Linked DNA regions of Homo sapiens: regions 2, 3, 4, 5, 6 and 7 are each linked to region 1. The links are contacts of gene promoters, found by promoter capture Hi-C in blood cells and fetal thymus (Javierre and others, 2016). All regions are on one chromosome and are shown on one strand. Each heading gives the region's core, a stretch centred on a gene start or on the middle of the fragment in contact. The rest is flanking DNA. Distances are from core to core; before and after follow the strand shown. Region 1 holds the start of TENT4B (terminal nucleotidyltransferase 4B). Region 2 has its middle 10 kb from the start of LINC02128. Region 3 has its middle 6.0 kb from the start of LINC02168. Region 4 overlaps CYLD (CYLD lysine 63 deubiquitinase). Region 5 overlaps CYLD (CYLD lysine 63 deubiquitinase). Region 6 overlaps CYLD (CYLD lysine 63 deubiquitinase). Region 7 overlaps NOD2 (nucleotide binding oligomerization domain containing 2).

Evidence for each region. The method cuts DNA at HindIII sites, captures the fragments that hold promoters and counts their contacts. A CHiCAGO score of 5 or more calls a contact.
Region 2: a fragment that was not itself captured here is called in contact with the fragment with the promoter of TENT4B in region 1 in 2 of 17 cell types (non-activated CD4 T cells and naive B cells); the score reaches 7.1 in non-activated CD4 T cells.
Region 3: a contact is called between a fragment that was not itself captured here and the fragment with the promoter of TENT4B in region 1, in 10 of 17 cell types (total CD4 T cells, naive CD8 T cells, non-activated CD4 T cells and 7 more). The highest score is 11.6, in total CD4 T cells.
Region 4: a fragment that was not itself captured here is called in contact with the fragment with the promoter of TENT4B in region 1 in 10 of 17 cell types (naive CD4 T cells, total CD4 T cells, total CD8 T cells and 7 more); the score reaches 25.7 in naive CD4 T cells.
Region 5: a fragment that was not itself captured here is called in contact with the fragment with the promoter of TENT4B in region 1 in 10 of 17 cell types (total CD4 T cells, naive CD4 T cells, total CD8 T cells and 7 more); the score reaches 21.5 in total CD4 T cells.
Region 6: a fragment that was not itself captured here is called in contact with the fragment with the promoter of TENT4B in region 1 in 12 of 17 cell types (total CD4 T cells, naive CD4 T cells, naive CD8 T cells and 9 more); the score reaches 30.9 in total CD4 T cells.
Region 7: a contact is called between a fragment that was not itself captured here and the fragment with the promoter of TENT4B in region 1, in 10 of 17 cell types (neutrophils, total CD8 T cells, non-activated CD4 T cells and 7 more). The highest score is 14.3, in neutrophils.

What each region holds. Positions count from the first base shown.
Region 1 is chr16:50,152,013-50,154,579 of GRCh38, forward strand. It overlaps TENT4B (terminal nucleotidyltransferase 4B), which reads left to right and starts at 1,294. Exons shown (of 12, transcript NM_001365324.3): 1 at 1,294-2,247. The coding sequence starts at 1,610. RefSeq lists an enhancer at 350-1,307 and silencers at 534-623, 844-1,013, 1,124-1,283, 1,514-1,613, 1,794-1,843 and 1 more. The HindIII fragment of the contact is 13,709 bases long and covers 1-2,567 here.
Region 2 is chr16:50,828,810-50,831,376 of GRCh38, forward strand. No RefSeq gene overlaps it. Among named protein-coding and RNA genes, the nearest start is that of LINC02128, 10 kb to the right of the region's middle. The HindIII fragment of the contact is 1,155 bases long and covers 711-1,865 here.
Region 3 is chr16:50,811,367-50,813,933 of GRCh38, forward strand. No RefSeq gene overlaps it. Among named protein-coding and RNA genes, the nearest start is that of LINC02168, 6.0 kb to the left of the region's middle. The HindIII fragment of the contact is 5,044 bases long and covers 1-2,567 here.
Region 4 is chr16:50,783,245-50,785,811 of GRCh38, forward strand. It overlaps CYLD (CYLD lysine 63 deubiquitinase), which reads left to right. Exons shown (of 19, transcript NM_001378743.1): 12 at 1,085-1,207. CYLD-AS2 (CYLD antisense RNA 2) reads right to left here. Exons shown (of 3, transcript NR_187251.1): 3 at 615-945. Among named protein-coding and RNA genes, the nearest start is that of CYLD-AS2, 19 kb to the right of the region's middle. The HindIII fragment of the contact is 3,747 bases long and covers 1-2,567 here.
Region 5 is chr16:50,767,091-50,769,657 of GRCh38, forward strand. All of the region lies in intron 5 of CYLD (CYLD lysine 63 deubiquitinase), which reads left to right. Among named protein-coding and RNA genes, the nearest start is that of CYLD-AS1, 26 kb to the left of the region's middle. The HindIII fragment of the contact is 252 bases long and covers 1,148-1,399 here.
Region 6 is chr16:50,746,616-50,749,182 of GRCh38, forward strand. The region is part of intron 2 of CYLD (CYLD lysine 63 deubiquitinase); the gene reads left to right. Among named protein-coding and RNA genes, the nearest start is that of CYLD-AS1, 5.2 kb to the left of the region's middle. The HindIII fragment of the contact is 2,275 bases long and covers 160-2,434 here.
Region 7 is chr16:50,728,034-50,730,600 of GRCh38, forward strand. It overlaps NOD2 (nucleotide binding oligomerization domain containing 2), which reads left to right. Exons shown (of 12, transcript NM_001370466.1): 11 at 1,785-1,868. CYLD-AS1 (CYLD antisense RNA 1) reads right to left here. Exons shown (of 7, transcript NR_184279.1): 5 at 1,810-1,920; 6 at 980-1,117; 7 at 1-417. Among named protein-coding and RNA genes, the nearest start is that of CYLD, 13 kb to the right of the region's middle. The HindIII fragment of the contact is 3,218 bases long and covers 1-2,567 here.

The sequences.
Region 1 (2,567 bases), core at 44-2,543:
GAGTCACTGAACTCCAGATGACAGAGCAAGAGTTAGTCTCGAAAGAAAGAAAAAGGTAGAGCGACACTTAGTTCTTTGATAGTTTTCCACTATTTGTCATAAAAACTTTCCAGGATATTGAGCTCCCAAAATGGAAGGCCAATATCAGGCATCAGGGACTTGTTCTGGACGTTGGACCAACCTTAAAGGGCCCACATAGAAGCTGTTCACTTACTTTCTTTTAGTCTCTTGATTTAAAATACTTAACATTCCCCTTTCCTTGGCTTTTTAACCACTGAGATTTGAAAGACATGCAAATAACGACCTAGTGGACAATCTTTGCTGATGCTAAATCTTCATTTTAGGATTAAAAGGTTTTGGGTTTTCTTAAAATTTAATGCTGAACTCAGAAGAGCTTTCTAAGGCTGTTGGTGCACCTTAGGGCAGGAGAGCGTCTTTGCTACGCCGCGCAGGAGTGTGTCTGCTTCTCTGTGCATCTACACGTGTTTGCGTGTCCCTGTAAAGTGGGTTGAGTGTGCGGCTGCGGCTTTCCGCCCTTGGCTCACACTCTCAGTCTTAGTGGTCTCCCCCAGGGCTATGCATGGGGTACAGGTTTCTGTGGCCTCAGGCCGGGGTGAGGGGTCCCCCACCCCGGCCAGGGCGCAGCAGGGCGGGGCACACGTAGCCGTGCAGGGTCTCGCGCAGCCCGCGTCAGGACCCCGGGGCACACGCTCGGGCAGGGGGCGTGTCCCCACGCCACCAGAAAAAGTGTTATAGGCTGTTTTTTTTTTTTTTTTTTTTTTTAAAAAGAAAGTGTTTTAGAAAGCAGGCAGAAGCCAAGACGTCAGGAAGGGTTGCGAGGGCCCGGGATCCGGCGGCCACAGGGATGGGAGGGGCGAGGAGCGAGGGGCGGAGTGGCACCTCCCACAACGCGCTCCCTGCGGGGCGGGCGGCAACCTCCATGCGGCCTCGTCCACGCTCAGCACCGGGGAAGCCGAGGCGGAGAAGCCGCGCGCGCCTCAGAAGCTCCCGGACGCCCAGGTACGTGGGAGCACTCCACAGATGGCGCAAGTACGGTTGGGCCAGGCGGTTGCGGCCCCGTCGCGCCGCGGCCTCTGTGACGCACGGCGAGGCCTCCCGGGCTGCTGCGCGGCGCAGCGGGGGCGGGGCGAGCGCGTGAGGGCGGGGCGGTGGGGGGGGGGGGCGGAGCGAGAGGGGCGGAGCCGGCAGAGGCCCCGCCCCGGGGCCGGAGGAGCGAGGACGCTACGGAGCAGGCGCGTCTCGCTGCCGCCGCTGCCGCCGCCGCCGCTCGCTCTTCTGTGGAGCCGCCGCCGCCGCCGCCGCCATTTGCACGGGGACCCCAGTGACAGGGGCTCGGCGGAGGGGCGGAGGGGCGGAGGGAGGGGGGGAGGGCCCGCGGAGCCCCCGAGGGCGGGAGCGACGCCGCCGGCGCCGGCCGGGCTCCCTGCGCGACCGCGCCGCCCGCGGCGGGCCCCGAGCAGCAGCAGCAGCAGCAGCGGCAGCAGCGGCAGCAGCAGCAGCAGCCGAGGCCGGGCGTGCGCCTGAGGCGGCGGCGGCGGCGGCCCTGCGGGCGGCCGGGAGGGGCGGGGGCAGCGGCCGCCGCCGTTTGATGGATCCGAGGATCGCCTGGTTTCAGCCAGAGCAGCTCGGACCGTCCAACAGTCTGTGGATGCAGATCTGGGAGACGACCCAGGGGCTGAGGAACCTCTACTTCAACCACCACTGTCACAGCAGCGGCGGCGCGAGCGGCGGCGGCGGCAGCAGCAGCAGCAGCAGCACGGCCACCGGCGGGAGCGGCAGCAGCACCGGCAGCCCCGGCGGCGCGGCCTCGGCCCCGGCCCCGGCCCCGGCCGGCATGTATCGCTCCGGGGAGCGCCTGCTGGGCAGCCACGCGCTGCCCGCGGAGCAGCGGGACTTCCTGCCCCTAGAGACGACCAACAACAACAACAACCACCACCAGCCCGGGGCCTGGGCCCGCCGGGCGGGCTCCTCGGCGTCCTCGCCTCCCTCGGCGTCCTCGTCCCCGCACCCTTCGGCCGCCGTCCCCGCCGCCGATCCAGCCGATTCGGCCTCGGGCAGCAGCAACAAGAGGAAGCGCGACAACAAGGCCAGCACGTATGGACTCAACTACAGCCTGCTGCAGCCCAGCGGAGGGCGGGCCGCGGGGGGCGGCCGAGCAGACGGCGGCGGGGTCGTGTACAGCGGGACCCCGTGGAAACGGAGGAACTACAACCAGGGAGTCGTGGGGTGAGTGCTGGCTCTGCGGCCCGATGGCCTGGCCGGTGCGAATGCGCAGCCGGGCACACGCCCACAGAGGGGGGTTGTGAGGGTCTAGGAGCGGCCACCCCCACGGCCTGCCTTCGCTGCTGTTGCACGGGGGTGCTGCTGGCCATCCCCAACCCCCCAGTCGTTCACACCTTTCCCCAAGCCTCCTTAGCCGTCCACACCCTCCGTCTCCTGTCCTCCCTTAGTCGTCCACACCTTCCTCCCCTCCCTCTTAACCGTCCACACCTTCCCCAGGCCCCCCCCTTTATCCATTCACTCTCCTCCCATCCCCCTTAGTTAAA
Region 2 (2,567 bases), core at 38-2,537, 680 kb after region 1:
ACGGGTTTCACCACATTGGCCAGGCTGGTCTCAAACTCCTGACCTCGTGATCCACCCATCTCAGCCTCCCAAAGTGTTGGGACTACAGGCGTGAGCCACATTTTTCTAGTTCCCTAAGGTGGAGGCTGAAGTTATTAATTCGAGATCTTACTACTTTTCTAATGCCAGTACCATGGGGTCTATGGAGTCACATGGTCCAAGCTACAGAACTTGTAGCATAGCCTGGACCTGCTGCAGAGCCCTCTCTTGCTTTGAGCCTCACTTAAGACTAGCATGTTTCCTTACAAGTCATTGAATGGGCAAGAGCAGTATCCCCCAGTGTTGGAGTATGCGTCCTTCAATTCGGACTGGTCTACCAAGCACTGGGGATTTTTCCTTAGTGGTAGGAATTGCACAGTACAATAACTTTACTTTATTTTGGAGGGGATTGATATTATTTGCATGCATGTGCCCACCCAAATCTCATGTCAAATTGTAATCTCTAATGTTGGAGGTGGGGCCTGGTGGGAAGTGACTGGATTGTGGGGGCGTATTTCTCATGAGTGGTTTAGCACTATCCCCTTGGTGCTGTCCTCATGACAGTGAGTGAATTCTCTCGAGATATGATTGTTTAAAAGTCTGTGGCACCTTCTCTCTCTCTCTCTCTCTCTTCCTCCCTGCTCTGGCCATGTGACATGCTTGCTTCCCCTTCTGCTTCTGCCATGATTGTAAGCTTCCTGAGGCCTCCGCAGAAGCTGAGCAGATGTTAGCACCATGCTTCCTGTAAAGCCTGCAGAACCATGAGCCAATCATACCTCTTTTCTTTGTAAATTACTCAGGTTCAGCTATTTCTTTACAGCAATACAAGAATCACCTAATACAGGGATGCTCCACTGCTGCAGACCACTGGCCCCTAGAAACTTTGCTGATACATACCTGGGATTTCTTACTTCCCATCCTTTGGACAGCATGTATCTTACCCAGGCATCCCGATGACTTGTCTCTTCTTGCTCATCTGATCCAATTAACGTATCATACAGGGAAGTAATTTCAGCTCACTGCTGAAATTGATACAGGGAAGTAATTTCAGTTTCTTTGTGAAGTGTCCAGATTGCCTAGGTCACATTATGGACTACATTATGGCAGAAATCAGAATTACCATATTCCAGGGCAGGATTATCAATATATGCTATTATCCATTGGATGTAGATGCAAACAGCTTCTGATCCTCATTTGTGATGGGCACGTGTAGTGGGTTAAATGATGCACCTGCCCCCACCCCACCAAAGAAAAGATATGCCCACCTGGAACCTAGAACTGTGGACTTATTTGGAATAAAGGTCTTGGCAGATATAATTAAATAAAGGATCTCAAGATACGATCATCTTGGATTAGGGTAGGCCCTAAATCCAATGATAAATTTCCTTATAAGAGAAGAGAGAGGAATACATACAGGAGAGGACAGAGATTGGAGTGATGTGTCTACAAGCCAAGAAATGCCAAAGACAGCCGGCAGCCACCAGGAGAGGAAGGACTCTTCCCTAGAGCCTCCAGAGGCAGCCTACTGACCCCTTGACTTCAGACCACTGGCCTCTAGAACTGTGAGAGAATAAATTTCTGTTGTTTTAAGTCATTAAGTTTGTGGTAATTTGTTATGGCAGTCCCAGGAAACAAACAACAGTATTGGAAAGAACACGTTTGGCAGATCAGAAATAAATTGCAAACCACATAGCTGAGGTTGTGTTAGTCTGCTGTAGTAAACAGACCTCCTTTGGCATAGGAACTGCAATTCAGCCACCACTTCGTTGATCCTTTCGTCCATCATCTGCAGTGAGAGCTCTGGCATCTCAGCTTCATTTAATGAGGGCCAATGTGAGCTTTTTCCAAGCTTCTAAGAGCCATCCCAGCTATGTATTAGACCCATCCCTGGAAGCCTCGCCGGGGTGTTAAATTCCATGGCAAAGGAGAGGGCTCCCTTGTCAACAAATGTTCCTTTATTCAGTGATAAATTCTGTCCACCTTGACCCAGCATCCTCAGGATCCACTCCTGGGCATGCCCTCCCAGTCCTGCCAGGGCATGTCCACTAGTACCTGCAGAGTCTTTTACTTAGAAACTTTCCCATTCCTAAGCAGGCCTCACACAGTTGACTCATGCTGAGACTTGGCCCTACAGATTAGACTGGTGGCGGGGAGAGGAGGTGACAGCAGATACGGAGGAGGCCAGTGCTGCTTTATAAAAATCCTCATTTGGGGCTTCTTGGATAGTCTCCTAACAGGGTGGACAGGCCGCTTCTGCAGACCCAGAGGACCCAAAGTTCTCAAGTACATGTACTCAAATGCACTTACCCCAAGTTCCAGATTCCTGCAGCTTCTCCATCAGAGGTCTGACTTTGGTGTAGAAAACTTGCCTAGGCTTAGAATTAGAATTTAAATTTCCTTAAAGTTGCAACTCTTATCCTTAAGTCCTTTCCTCATATCCTTAAGGCCAGGGCCTGGGAGCCAGCTGTCTGCCTCCCCAGCTGTGGGAGATGAGAGTTTCTATAATGCTGGCAATGGGGCTCTCAGACCCTCATGTTTTGCTTCACATT
Region 3 (2,567 bases), core at 21-2,520, 660 kb after region 1:
TTATTATTTTTTAACCAACTCCACTGAGGTGTAATTTACATACAGTAACATACACATATTTTAAGTAAGCAGTTAGATGAGTTTTGACACATTCATGAATTTATTTTTTATGAGACCAGGATCTCACTATGTTGCCCAAGCTAGTCTCGAACTCCTGGGCTCAAGCGATCCTCCTGCCTCAGCCTCCCAAGTATCTGGGACTACAGGCATGCACCACCATGCCCAGCCAATTTTAAAAATTTTTCGTAGAGAAGGTGATCTTGTTATGTTGCCCAGGCTGGTCTTGAATTCCTGACCTCAAGTGATCCTCCTGCCTGGGCATCCGGAAGCTCTATTACAGGCATGAGCCACCACTCTGGGATCTGACAAACTTTCTGTAGTGTTGAAGTTCAGTGACTTGGAGTAGTCACCTCCAGCTCAAGGTGCATGTGCCTGTGTGTTTTCTCCTTTTTTTGATAAAACCCAGGCTCAGCACAGGGTCGAGAAAAAGACTGAAAGTCAGCCCAGAAAGCAGTGTAGAAAGTAGAAAGCTAGTCTGGACTACCATTAGCATCAAGGACCTCAGTCACTGGAGCCATTGAGATGGGTCCACCCCTTCTCCCTCTCTTTCTCTCTCTCTCTTTTTCTTTCTTTAATTCATTAGCAAGAGGGTCTGTCTCACTATGTTGCCCAGGCTGGAAAACCTGGGCTCAAGCAACCCTCCCATCTCAGCCTCCCAGTCCCAGCTCAATCTTTCTTTTTAAAGTTGGAGAATTTTCTAAAGTTCTCCAACTTTAAAGGCTGCTGCCTAGGGAGGCAGGGCTGCACCCACGGGCAGAGTTAGAGGCAGAGCTGGAACAGAACCCCAGCATGGGAAGTCCGTGTTCACGGGGGGCCATTTCACCCTGGGACATTGTAGGGCAGCTCGAGGCTCTGACTAGGGAGGCCCAGCGCCTGGGGCTGGCGCTTGGTCCGAGCTCTGCAGGCTTTCCTGGGTGGAGAGGAGCCTCTTCCTGCCATGCACACCAGGCCTTCCTTAAGTGACTCAAACACCAATCTTCCTTGGGCTTCCTGAACTGTGAGGATTCCACAGTCTGGCAGGGCTGGTGGCCTCAGCCGTACACTCTGCAGCCAAGAGGGCTCTAGCTCCTGATTCCACCCTGTCCCTCAGCGGCTCCCCAGTGCTCTTCCAGGCCTTAGGCCTGCACCATCCCCACCTCTCCCTCCTCACCAACCTGCCACCTCCTGCCTCAGGTGGACACACTCAGGAGGAAGTCAAGCCTGTCCCTATACAAAAGCCATATTCCCAGGCACTTGCCTGAGTAGAGACGAAGTCTCAGCTCCTTCTACGTGAGCCCGAGGTGCCCACGGTCCCCACACCCCCTCCAGGAGTCCTTGCATTTGCGCAATGCTTTATACTCATCTGTCAGCTCGGCAGTGGGTCCCCCAGAGGGTGAAAACCACATTGTCCCTGTCTCATCAGCAACCAGAACAGGGGGCACCAACTGTGGCCTCCTCCCATATTTGTCGGGAGACTGAATGATTCTCAGGAAGCTGCGCGGCCACCGGCCATTTCACATGGGCATTTCCAAGCTGGGTGCTTTTTGCACCATGCTATTTTGGGCGGGAAGACTTTTCCAGTCCCTTTCTCCTTGGCATGCCACAGAAGAATTTCCTTCACCCACATCTGGATCATCTAGAATTACCCAGTTCAGCCTGTTGCTTTCAATGGCAAACGTCCAGTGCATGGTGTTGGCTCATTTTCATCCCCACTGTCTAGGAGCCCTTGAGCCTTGAGCTTTGGTTCACTATGGGCAGTCTCTTCCCTCCAGGCCTTGGCTAGAGCCAGGCAGGGACAGTGCCCACTCAGGGGCCGATCCACCTCGCTGGGGGCCACCAGTTCGAGCTGGGTGCTCTGTGAAACCAGTCATACCCAAGCTACTGGACTCTGGTCACTCCATGATCCTTGGCAAGATGTCTGTCTATGAACCGCAGTCCCTCTATCTGTAAAATGAAGGATCCTAGACTGGGACTCTCAAGCTCACTTGCCTACAGGGGCCAGGCAGGTACCTTAGGGAAGGGAGAAGGTTGGAGTGTTGGTGGAGAGCTGATATGGTAAAGGAAAGGAAGAAGCAGGCCAGTATATTCTGATTTTTTTTTTTTTTTTTGAGACGGAGTCTCGCTCTGCTGCCCAGGCTGGAGTGCAGTGGTGCGATCTCAGCTCACTGCAACCTCCACCTCCCGGGGTCAAGCAGTTCTCTGCCTCAGCCTCCTGCGTAGCAGTGAGTGCCACCATGCCTGGCTAATTTTTTTGTATTTTTAATAGAGACAGGGTTTCGCCATCTTAGCCAGGCTTGTCTTGAACTCCCGACCTCGTGATCCACCCGCCTCGGCCTCCCAAAGTGCTGGGATTACAGGCGTAAGCCACCGCACCTGGCCTATGTTCTGATTTTTCAGACGAAGTCAGAAATTTCTAAGAGAAGCAAAAGTTCCTGATCTGTACAAATCTGGCAACTTTTCTTTTTTTTAACTCTGTATGTGCCAGACGCGTTTAAGCCAGAGCAGCTCCATCTTGAATAAGGGCTGGG
Region 4 (2,567 bases), core at 31-2,530, 630 kb after region 1:
GGATCTTTAAGCTCTGGAAATTGAACCAAGAATCTTTAGGCTCTGAGGATTGTAGACTGGGCTAAATTGAGAGTAGCCTGCCAGTTCTGTAGCCATATGATAAGAATTAGGAAGTTAATATGGGATGTTAACATTTTTAAAGTAGGAAGAAGAATAAAGTGGCGGCCATTTTATTTGCAGAATACTTTGACAAAAACAAACCTTGTAGCATTGATATAATATTCTTTAGATTTCCTGATAAAAATCTATATTAGCTAAATTTTCTTTTTCTTTGATAACAGCAAGTTACTGCTGTCACTCGTTTATTTTTTTGAGAAGGAGTCTCGCTGTGTCGCCCAGGCTGGAATGCAGTGACGTGATCTCGGCTCACTGGAACCTCCACCTCCCGGGTTCAAGCGATTCTCCTATCTCAGCCTCCCAAGTAGCTGGGACTTCAGGTGCACTCCATCATGCCTGGCTAATTTTTGTATTTTTAGTAGAGACGGGGTTTCACCATATTGGTCAGGCTGGTCTCAAACTCCTGACCTCAGGTGATTCACCCGTCTCGGCCTCCCAAAGTTCTGGGATTGCAGGCATGAGCCACCGCACCTGGCCTGTTAGTCACTCATAAGTGATTTTAGCATTTAAAGAAATTTATTAATGTAATAGATCTTTGCAAAGGGGCATGGGGAGAGGGAAGTGGGGCACTGAATAGTGCTTGCCTCGGGAAGTCGTTTCCAAATGCTGTCCTCTGTTGTCTGTTTGTAATTTGACTGATATTTGTAGTCTCTCTATCAACTTTTGCAAAGAAGTTTTCTTTCTTAATATTCTGTTGGCACGTTGTTATCCTTTAACACTGCCAATCTGCCGTTTGCTTTCTCAGTATTATTGGTGTTGTCCTTAACATGGAAGGATCTGTAGGTCCTGATGATTGAACCATGGGTATCTTCACAGGGGTCCTGGTACCTGTGTTAATGAAAAACACAAATTGTTATGTTATTTGTTCTCCAGACTTTACTTATTTTCCTCTTCTAATTCTGTTAAAAATCTGTTTCTTGAAAAATATGTTTACAGCATGAAGAAAATTATCCTTTTTCTTTTGCAGCTTATTTGCTTTTAGTTCTGTTCTGGACACTGTGTTACTTAGACCCAAAGAAAAGAACGATGTAGAATATTATAGTGAAACCCAAGAGCTACTGAGGACAGAAATTGTTAATCCTCTGAGAATGTAAGTAGAAAACAAATTGCTATTTTGCCTTTACATGGTGTTCTATTTGCTGTTTTCTGGTATAGTAATTAATTTATACCTTGTCTTCATGTAATAAGAGATGGGTGAAAATTAGTTCTTATGGTAAAATATTACGTTTTTAAACCTTTGGTCCTTGTACTTTTTTGCTTATTTAATTTCTTAAATGTGGCCAAGGTGTAGAACATAGCATATTCCATGAAATGATTTAACCTATTTTGCTAGAGTAAACTATAATTTAGCAATTGCAGTATGTTTAGGAAAGCTAATACATAATACTTAGGATTCTTATCTTTTGAAATAGTTTATTCCAACACTTCTGCTACAAGTAATCATGCTTATTAGTTAAATTGGTGTAGTCTAGCTTCTTAAATCTGAAAGAAAAGGAGAAAGGGAAATTCTTTATAGAATAGCTAGTGTTTAATACTTTGGACTAGCAACAGATGAGATGTATTTTAGTACCATATTTTTTGGTTAAAGGAATATATTTGGCCTCTTTCCACCTGCCTTAAAAAGGTGATTCTTTTTCCATTTCCTACTTTAGGAATTATAAATATGTCTTTTTATGGCCACAGGAAGCAATTTGTAATGGTACAAGCACAAGTGACAGGAGATATCTAGTAAAGACTTTGAATAAGTGGTAGTAGTGATATGTGATAATGTCACATTATAAAATTTAAACTATGAAGAATTAGGACCATAGATCATAAAACAAATTTGTTCATTCAGGAATATAGAGAGAAAGTGATTTATTTAAAGTCCATATTAAGATAAATTTGAATCCTTTTATATACTGTTCTTATTTATCAATTAAAGTAAAAAATAGTTTGATATCAAATTTGAACCAAAAAAGCAGAATACTCAAATACAATGAGGATTCCAAATTATCTGCTATATCACATGACTAGGAAAGTAAATTATAAGAGAATAAATTTCCTCACTTATATCTTTTGCTTTCTTTAAATTCTGTAATGATTTCTCTAATGATCTTACTCTTTAAGATAATTGTGAATCTTGATTTTCACATCAACTATTTTGTCTTATGCAAATTTTTAAACATACGATTTTTTTCCCCCAAGTAATTGATACTGGAACAAGACAGGTCAAACCCGAAACTCTAAGGCATGTTAACACCTCCTTCCTAGAAGAGAGGAAGAATAAACATTCTTTGGATCCTATTGTTCAGCCAGTTAAGAATCATAGTTAATCACACTTTCTTACCCTGTCCACGGTAAGAAACTGGTCAGATGCCCTGTTGTGATCAGGATTCCCTGTGTCTGTAGCATTCATATCTGTATATAGCTGACTGGTTTTATTTGGTGCTGAAATCTCTGCTTTTCTT
Region 5 (2,567 bases), core at 24-2,523, 620 kb after region 1:
GTTGTCTTATTTTAGGAAATTGCCACGGTCACTCCAACTTTCAGCAACCATCACCGTGATCAGTCAGCACCCATCCACACTGAGGCAAGAGCCTCCACCAGCAAAAAGACTATGACTCCTTGAAGGCTCAGATAATCATTAACATTTTTTAGCAATGAAATATTTTTAAAATTAAGGTATATACATTATTTTCAATAACATAATGGTATTGCACACGTAATGGACTACAGTATAGTGTAAACATAGCTTTCATATGCACTGGGAAACAAAAACACTTGTGTGACTTGCTTTATTGTGATATTTGCTTTATTGTGGTGGTCTGGAACAGAACCTACAATATCTCCAGGGTGTGCCTGTGTGGGTTTGTGGGTTTCAATTTTTTTTTTTTTTAATTTCCATAGAGTACTTTTGAAAGCTCAAAAAATAATTAAAAAAAAAAGCATTTTAGATTGAAAGTAACCGTTCTCTTTACCTACCTTAATTGCATTTCTTTGAATTTTACATTTTACAACTGAATGCAATTCATTATACTGAATAAGTTAGGAGACTAGGGAAATCATTAGTTTAGTATTATAATTTAAGATTGAGATACCTGAACTATGAAGTTGGCTTATGTATAATTGATTGTTTTTCTCAGTTGGCTGTAGAATAAATACTTGAAGTGCTTTCTCCCACACACACACTCTAGAGCTGTATTTCCTTCTGTCTATTTTTTCCACATCTCAATTTGGTTTGAAATGTAAATTATCTTGGGTTCTACAGTAGCACTTAAAAAGCAAAGCAAAGAAAAAAACCACCCTTTCTATTTTTCCTGGAATATAACCTGACAAGGAATTCTTCATTAGTAGTATTTATCTTAAAAACATTTACGGTTTTGTTTTATTAAAATATTGGTGGAGGATTGAGATAATTAAAATTAGTTACATGAATATCTTGGGCGTCACTTGTCAGGCACACTTTGATCTTCTAAATCAGTAGTTATCATTGTCATTATTGCTGGCTCAGAGCAGTGAAGAGAAAGAAAAAGAATGATATTTTTTTTTCTTTTAAAGCTTGATTTTCATAAACCCTCAATAGGAGATAATTAAGAATGATACCAGCATTTATAACATAATACATAAATTACACTTATTTGTCAACAAAATAAAGCTTGCAAATAGACTTTAAAAACTAAAGTTGTTTAAATGAAAATTAATTTAGTTTACTTAAATGAGTCTTCATCTGCCTTTCATGTCATCATTAGGACTCTTTTCTTGAGGGGAAAAAAAAGTCAAAGTGTCTCCTTTAGTTCCTTAGTTTCTTTTTCTTGCCCAATTACCTTCATCCGTGAAACAAAATTAATATTTACAGCATTTAAAAAAGAAAAAAGATTCTTTTCAGAGCAGTTGAATGGCTGGGAAGCTTAGGAAAGAATTCTTTCTAGTCAATTGCTTGTAATAGTTGGCTTCTGAAGGATACCTTTGATTGAAAGATGCAGGAATCTTAAACCTGTTATAAAATTGTTTCTCTCTTATATTTCTGTTCTAAATGGTTAAAAACACTGCTAACATATCTAATTTGACATTATGTTCATGTTCTTGAAGTTGTTATGATGAAGCATATCAATTAGCACCACCCCAAAATTATACATTTCGGTTTTTCTAGTTCAACCTGTGTCTTCTGTTCTAGTTGTGGGGGTTGGGAGTATAATGCTGTTTTTTTGACGATCTCTACGATCAAGATAGTGAACATATCCATCACCCCAAAATATGTCCCTTGGGATCCCTCCCTCTGCCTCTTCCTGTCCTCTCAACCCCCTACATTCAGACAACCACTGGTCTTCTTTACATCAGTATACACTTGTTCACATTTTTAAGGATTTTACAAAAGTGGAATAACTCAGAATGCATTCTTTTTTGTCTGGCTTATTTCACTCGACATAATTATTTTTTATTCATCCATGTTGTCCTTTTTATTGTTGATATGGTTATATTAGTTTCTATATCCATTCACTTGTTGATGGACACTTGAGTTTTTTTCAGTTTTTGGCTATTATGAATAATGCTGCTATGAAAATTTGTGTACGAATCTTTGTATGGACATATGCCTTCATTTCACTTGGGTACTTACCTAGATGTGGAATGGCTGGTAATATCATAGGTGACTGTTAACTTAAATAAAACCCCCAAACCTTCCAAGCTGTGTTTCCAAAGTGGTTGCATTATTTTACATTCCCAGAAGCAGTATATGAGAGATACAGTTCTTCCATATCTTTGCCAACACTTGGTATGATCAGTTTTTTAAATTTTAGTAACATCTAATTGTGGTTTTACTCTGCGCTTCATTGGTGACCAGTGATATCAAACATCTTTCCATGTGCATATTTGTCATCTGTATATCTTCTTTGGTTTAGTATCTGTGAAAGTCTTTGGCCGATTATTAATTGTTTCTTTATGATTGGGTTTTGAGAGTTATTTATAAATTTTGAATACAAACCCTTTTGCAGATATATGCTTTACAGCATTTCAGATTATTATAGATTCACATGCAGAGAGAGGGACCCTGTGTGCCCTTTAGCCAATTTTTCC
Region 6 (2,567 bases), core at 47-2,546, 590 kb after region 1:
CTAATGAAAGTTAGGAAAAAAGTTACCACTCCTTGTAGAGTTCACTTTAAAATATGGTACTTGAAAGCTATAGTTTATTACCCTAAAACATTTTTATAAACCTAGCAGTTATATCAATTTTTACTGTGGATTCTCTTCCTTAAATTATTTCAGAAAGCAAGCTTATAATCAAATTTATTTAACATAATGTCCTAATGCACATATAGTAATTTAGTTTTGTCTTAATAATAGATTATTAGCATTAATGATTTTTATTTTAAATTGTGACATGAATAGTTAAGCTACAGGACCAATAGAGTAGGAGCTGTTGGTATAAAGCAATTATTAAGATTCAGGGAAGTTTCTGATTGTAATATTTGAAGACATTGTTCTTAGGAATTTTAAAAAAGAATTTCTTTTCAAAATAGAATTACTTTACCTTTTTCAAAAAAATTTTGGCCCTAAAAATCTAAATACATTTTAAAGAGAACCAAAACAACAGCTCGTTTTTTTGAAAGTTGCTTTTTGACTGTCTTAACCTTCTGCTAGTGACCAGACTCTCTATTCAATAAAGCCTATGTGCCCTTTGCTCCTAAAGACCCTTTCAGAATGTATGCATTCCTCTTTTCACGATTGTTGCTTTGTGTTTTCAAACACACAAACATATTTCACTACCTGGCTTCTCAGAACTGATTCGAAGCGATAAGTTGGAAAGCAACAAGGCCGTAAAAGGAGTCAAATGCATACAGCAGGAAACCACAGAAAATGGCTGATTGCAAGGGAAAACTCTAGACAGTAGATCTGTAGAAAGCATTCGCGACCTCAGGAAGCATAAGATACAGCCTTTTAACAAAATAACAGCCTTGCAGATCAAGAGTTATGCAAAATAATTTACAGTCATAATGATACATCAATGATCAAGAAAAAAATAAGGACATTTTCTTGTGGAAAGTGTTGACATGTTAAAAGCATTTTGGTCAAAAAGAACCAACACTTCAGTTTGGTCCTTTAAAGGAATCCAACCAAATTGAGGGGTTGGATAGCTGTTTGGGCAGCCCTTATAAGGAGTTTTGTTTATATTGTGTCAAGATAGAGGTTTCCACAGGTGTCTTATATAAGTGGCAAATATAAATTGATCCCATTCTTGCTGAAGTAGACAGTGCCCTCAAGTGGAATTAAAACAAACACACCACAAAAAAGAAGAAAAGAGAACCACTTCATGCTACCTCTGCTTTTACCCTCACTGAGTGTTACACAGATATTTCAGTCATGTTGGTTTGAAGGAGGTGCCTAACCTGTATCCTGTCTTGGCTAAACCACATGTCTCATGCTGGCTTGTAGAGGGAGAGACTTTTAGGAACGTTACCATTATGGAATACTTCATTATCTAGCAGTGCTTTCTAAAAGAAGTGTTCCACTGTGTATAGATTTGCCAGGTTGTTTGATCATTAAGTGATTAAATCTAAAATTTGGTTCTTTAGGAGTATTTATTTTTTAATTGCTAGAATAAAATAAATATGATAGTGCTATCAATTGCAGCCATTACCCAGAATAATGGAAATGGATACCTCTATCTCAAGGAAGGATGAAATGAAAGTACTGTCTTTGGAAACCAGATAGCCACATTCTTATGACAGGGATACCTAGGAAGTATTGTTTTCAGCAGAAAATTAATTAAAATAATGAAGTAAAGTCTCAGTTTAAATTAATGAAATTGTGTAGTTTTTTAACCATCAGTTAAAATAGGTTTGAGAATGAGCCTACTTCATTGGAAAGATTATTATTCTTGTAAAAATTTTAAATGAGGACCAGGTGCAGTTGCTCATGCCTGTAATCCTAGAACCTTGGAAGGCCAAGGTGGGAGGATCATTTGAGTCCAGGAGTTTGAAACTGCAGTGAGCTATGATCGCACCAATGTACCCAAGCCTGGGTGACAGAGCGAGACCCTGTCTTAAAAATAAATAAATAAAATAAAAATAAATGAAAATTTGAAAAAGAAATAATAGAAAGAAATTATAATGCAGTTATATCATGATATTCCCTTGCTATGTAGTACAAGTTTTGATGCTACAAAATTGATTTTTAAAATATTTTTAATATAGTCATATTATAATATCTGATATTTGCGATTTGAGAAATCAGATAACTATGATTAATGTGATGAACATTGCCCATCTTCAGAAAAAATATATGAAATGAAGTTGAGTCAGAGGTAAAATGTTCCATTATCACAATATGGCCATATCATAGCTATCATTTATAGGCATGAGCCACACAGCTCAGCCCGAAACGCTACTTTTAAAAGTTTATTAGTGTCAGAATATGGGACAGGCCTGGTGGCTTACGACTGTAATCCCAGTGCGTTGGGAGGCCAAGACAGGAGGATTGTTTGAGCCCAGGAGTTCAAGACCAGCTTAGGCAACATAGTGAGACCCTGTCTCTACAAAAAATAGAAAGCTTAGCTGTGTGTGGTGATATGCGTCTATAATACCAGTTACTCGGGAGGCTGAGGTAGGAGGATCACTTGAGCCTGGAAGGTCTTGGCCACAGTGAACTGTGATTGTGCCACTGCAGTCCAGCATGGGCAA
Region 7 (2,567 bases), core at 20-2,519, 580 kb after region 1:
GTTGTGTAGAATAAGAGAAGATGACACTTCAAAATGACGATTTTCTTGGTTTTCACTCAGCTCATGAGGCACACACTTATCGAGGTTTTTCACCTTTCCAATTTGCTTCAAATGCTGAATGACCATGGAATGGTCGATGTTGAGTTCTCAAGTAGTTGTAAGAAAATCAGCTTTGATGATTGCTCTCAATTGGTCATTGTCAGCTTCTGATGGCCTGCCAGTACACTCCTCATCTTCAAGGCTCTTATCTCCTTCGCAAAACTTCTTGAACCACCACTGCACTATACGTTAGTTAGCAGTTCCTGGGCCAAATGCATTGCTGATGTTGTGAGTTGTCTCCGCTGCTTTACAACCCATTTTGAATTCAAATAAGAAAATTGCTTGAATTTGCTTTTTGTCTAACATCATTTTCATAGTCTAAAATAAATATAAAATAAACAGAAAGTATTAAGTCATTAGCAAAAAATCATAAAGTGAGAATTGTGCATTAAAATGATGTATAGCATAACCACATTTATTTAAGAATGTATTCCAATATCAAATGGCAAATTTCAACAATGCAAAAACTGCAATTACTTTTGCACCAATCTAATAGAAGTTCAATAAATACTGGCAATTACAATTGGCATTGCCTTAGGGTCAACTTGTAAGACATTCCTGAAATTGTGGGAAAGGGGGAGGACCTGGAGTGGACATTATTGGAAGGCAAAGCTGTAACCAAAAGAGCAACCTGGGAAACACATGACTCCTCTGTTGCTGTCCCTGGCCCTATCCTGTCTCCCCTCCCTGTTGTCAGCTACCTCATATGTTCTCTAATCTCTGTCTCTGTGCCCTCAAAGACCCCCCTGAAAATAGAAATATTACTGCTCATTGGTTATTTTCTATCAATTAAGTACTGTATTAGTCCGTTTTCATGCTGATGATAAAGATATACCCAAGACTGGGCACTTTATGAAAGAAAGAGTTTTATTGAACTTACAGTTCCACGTGGCTGGGGAGGTCTCACAATCATGGCTGAAGGTGAAAGGCACATCTCACATGGCAGCAGACAGGAGAAGAGGGCTTGTTCAGGGAAACTCCCCTTTTTAAAACCATCAGATATCATGAAACTTATTTACTGTAATGAGAACAGGATGGGATTCAATTACCTTCCACTGGGTCGCTCCCACAACACGTGGGAATTCAAGAGATTTGGGTGGGGACACAGCCAAACCATATCAAGTACTGTGCAAGTGTTTTAGGCATGCAGAGAGTGGTGGGTCTTCCCAGCAAGCAGAGTGTGGGGAGGTAATGGGGGACTGGTGGCTGACTTAATGGCCCAGGACCCATGCCACAAGGAGATGGATGGTGGATGTGAATAGGAGCCTGCTTACACCCATCACAATTTAGATTCTTATGCTCGATGGCACGGGTACTCTTTTAGGCCCATTTTACCAATGAGGAGATTGGGACTAATTTGCTCGAGATCAAAAAAGAAGTGGTGTAGGTGGGATTTAAACCCAGGATGTCTAGCACTAAAATGCAGGTACTTAACCACTATCCTAAGGGAGTGGCTACTTAATTTGATAAACTCATCTAGTGAATGGAAGAGAGACGGTTACATTTCACTGATGGTACTGAGCCTTTGTTGATGAGCTCATTGGGAATCTCAGACATGAGCAGGATGTGTCTAAGGGACAGGTGGGCTTCAGTAGACTGGCTAACTCCTGCAGTCTCTTTAACTGGACAGTTTCAAGAGGAAAACCAAGAATCCTTGAAGCTCACCATTGTATCTTCTTTTCCAGGTTGTCCAATAACTGCATCACCTACCTAGGGGCAGAAGCCCTCCTGCAGGCCCTTGAAAGGAATGACACCATCCTGGAAGTCTGGTAAGGCCCCTGGGCAGGCCTGTTTTAGCTCTCCGAACCTCAGTTTTTCTATCTGTAAAATGGGGTGACGGGAGAGAGGAATGGCAGAATTTTGAGGATCCCTTCTGATTCTGACATTCAGTGAGAATGATTCTGCATGTGAAGGATCTGATTCTCTGTCTAAGAAAGAAGTCTTTACCTCTTTAAGTAGGGAGCAATGATTTCATTTTTAAACCTTGACTATTTATTCAGCAACTTCTCTGCTCTATGAGATAGTGTAGGAATGGGGATGTGGTTGAAGAATGAAAAGAAAAGTCAGCTCCCGCCCTCCTAGAAATTGCATCTGCCTTCACAGGTCAAGGATATTGGATCAGACCTTCTGCGGTTCTGAATGGAGATTACACAGGTTAGGAGCAGGTTGCACAGTGTTTCCAATTCTCTATAATTAAAGCCATAGACTTTCATGTATTGAAAAAAGCAAGAATTGCATTCTTGACAGATTCTTTCATTGCCTTAAAAAGAATGACTAGCCTTGGGAGTCTGGGCAGCTGGGTCCAGTGTTGTAGACTTTCTCTCTGCTGAGCCACAGCTTCAAAGATTTGTCCTTCTTGTTTCCAGGGATCTATTTCTCAGACAATAAGTAAAGGCTTTCCCTGGCCTAATGTGCTGTAAGTGAATGCTACTATATATGTTCCAGGCACTGGGCTAGAGACTAATATT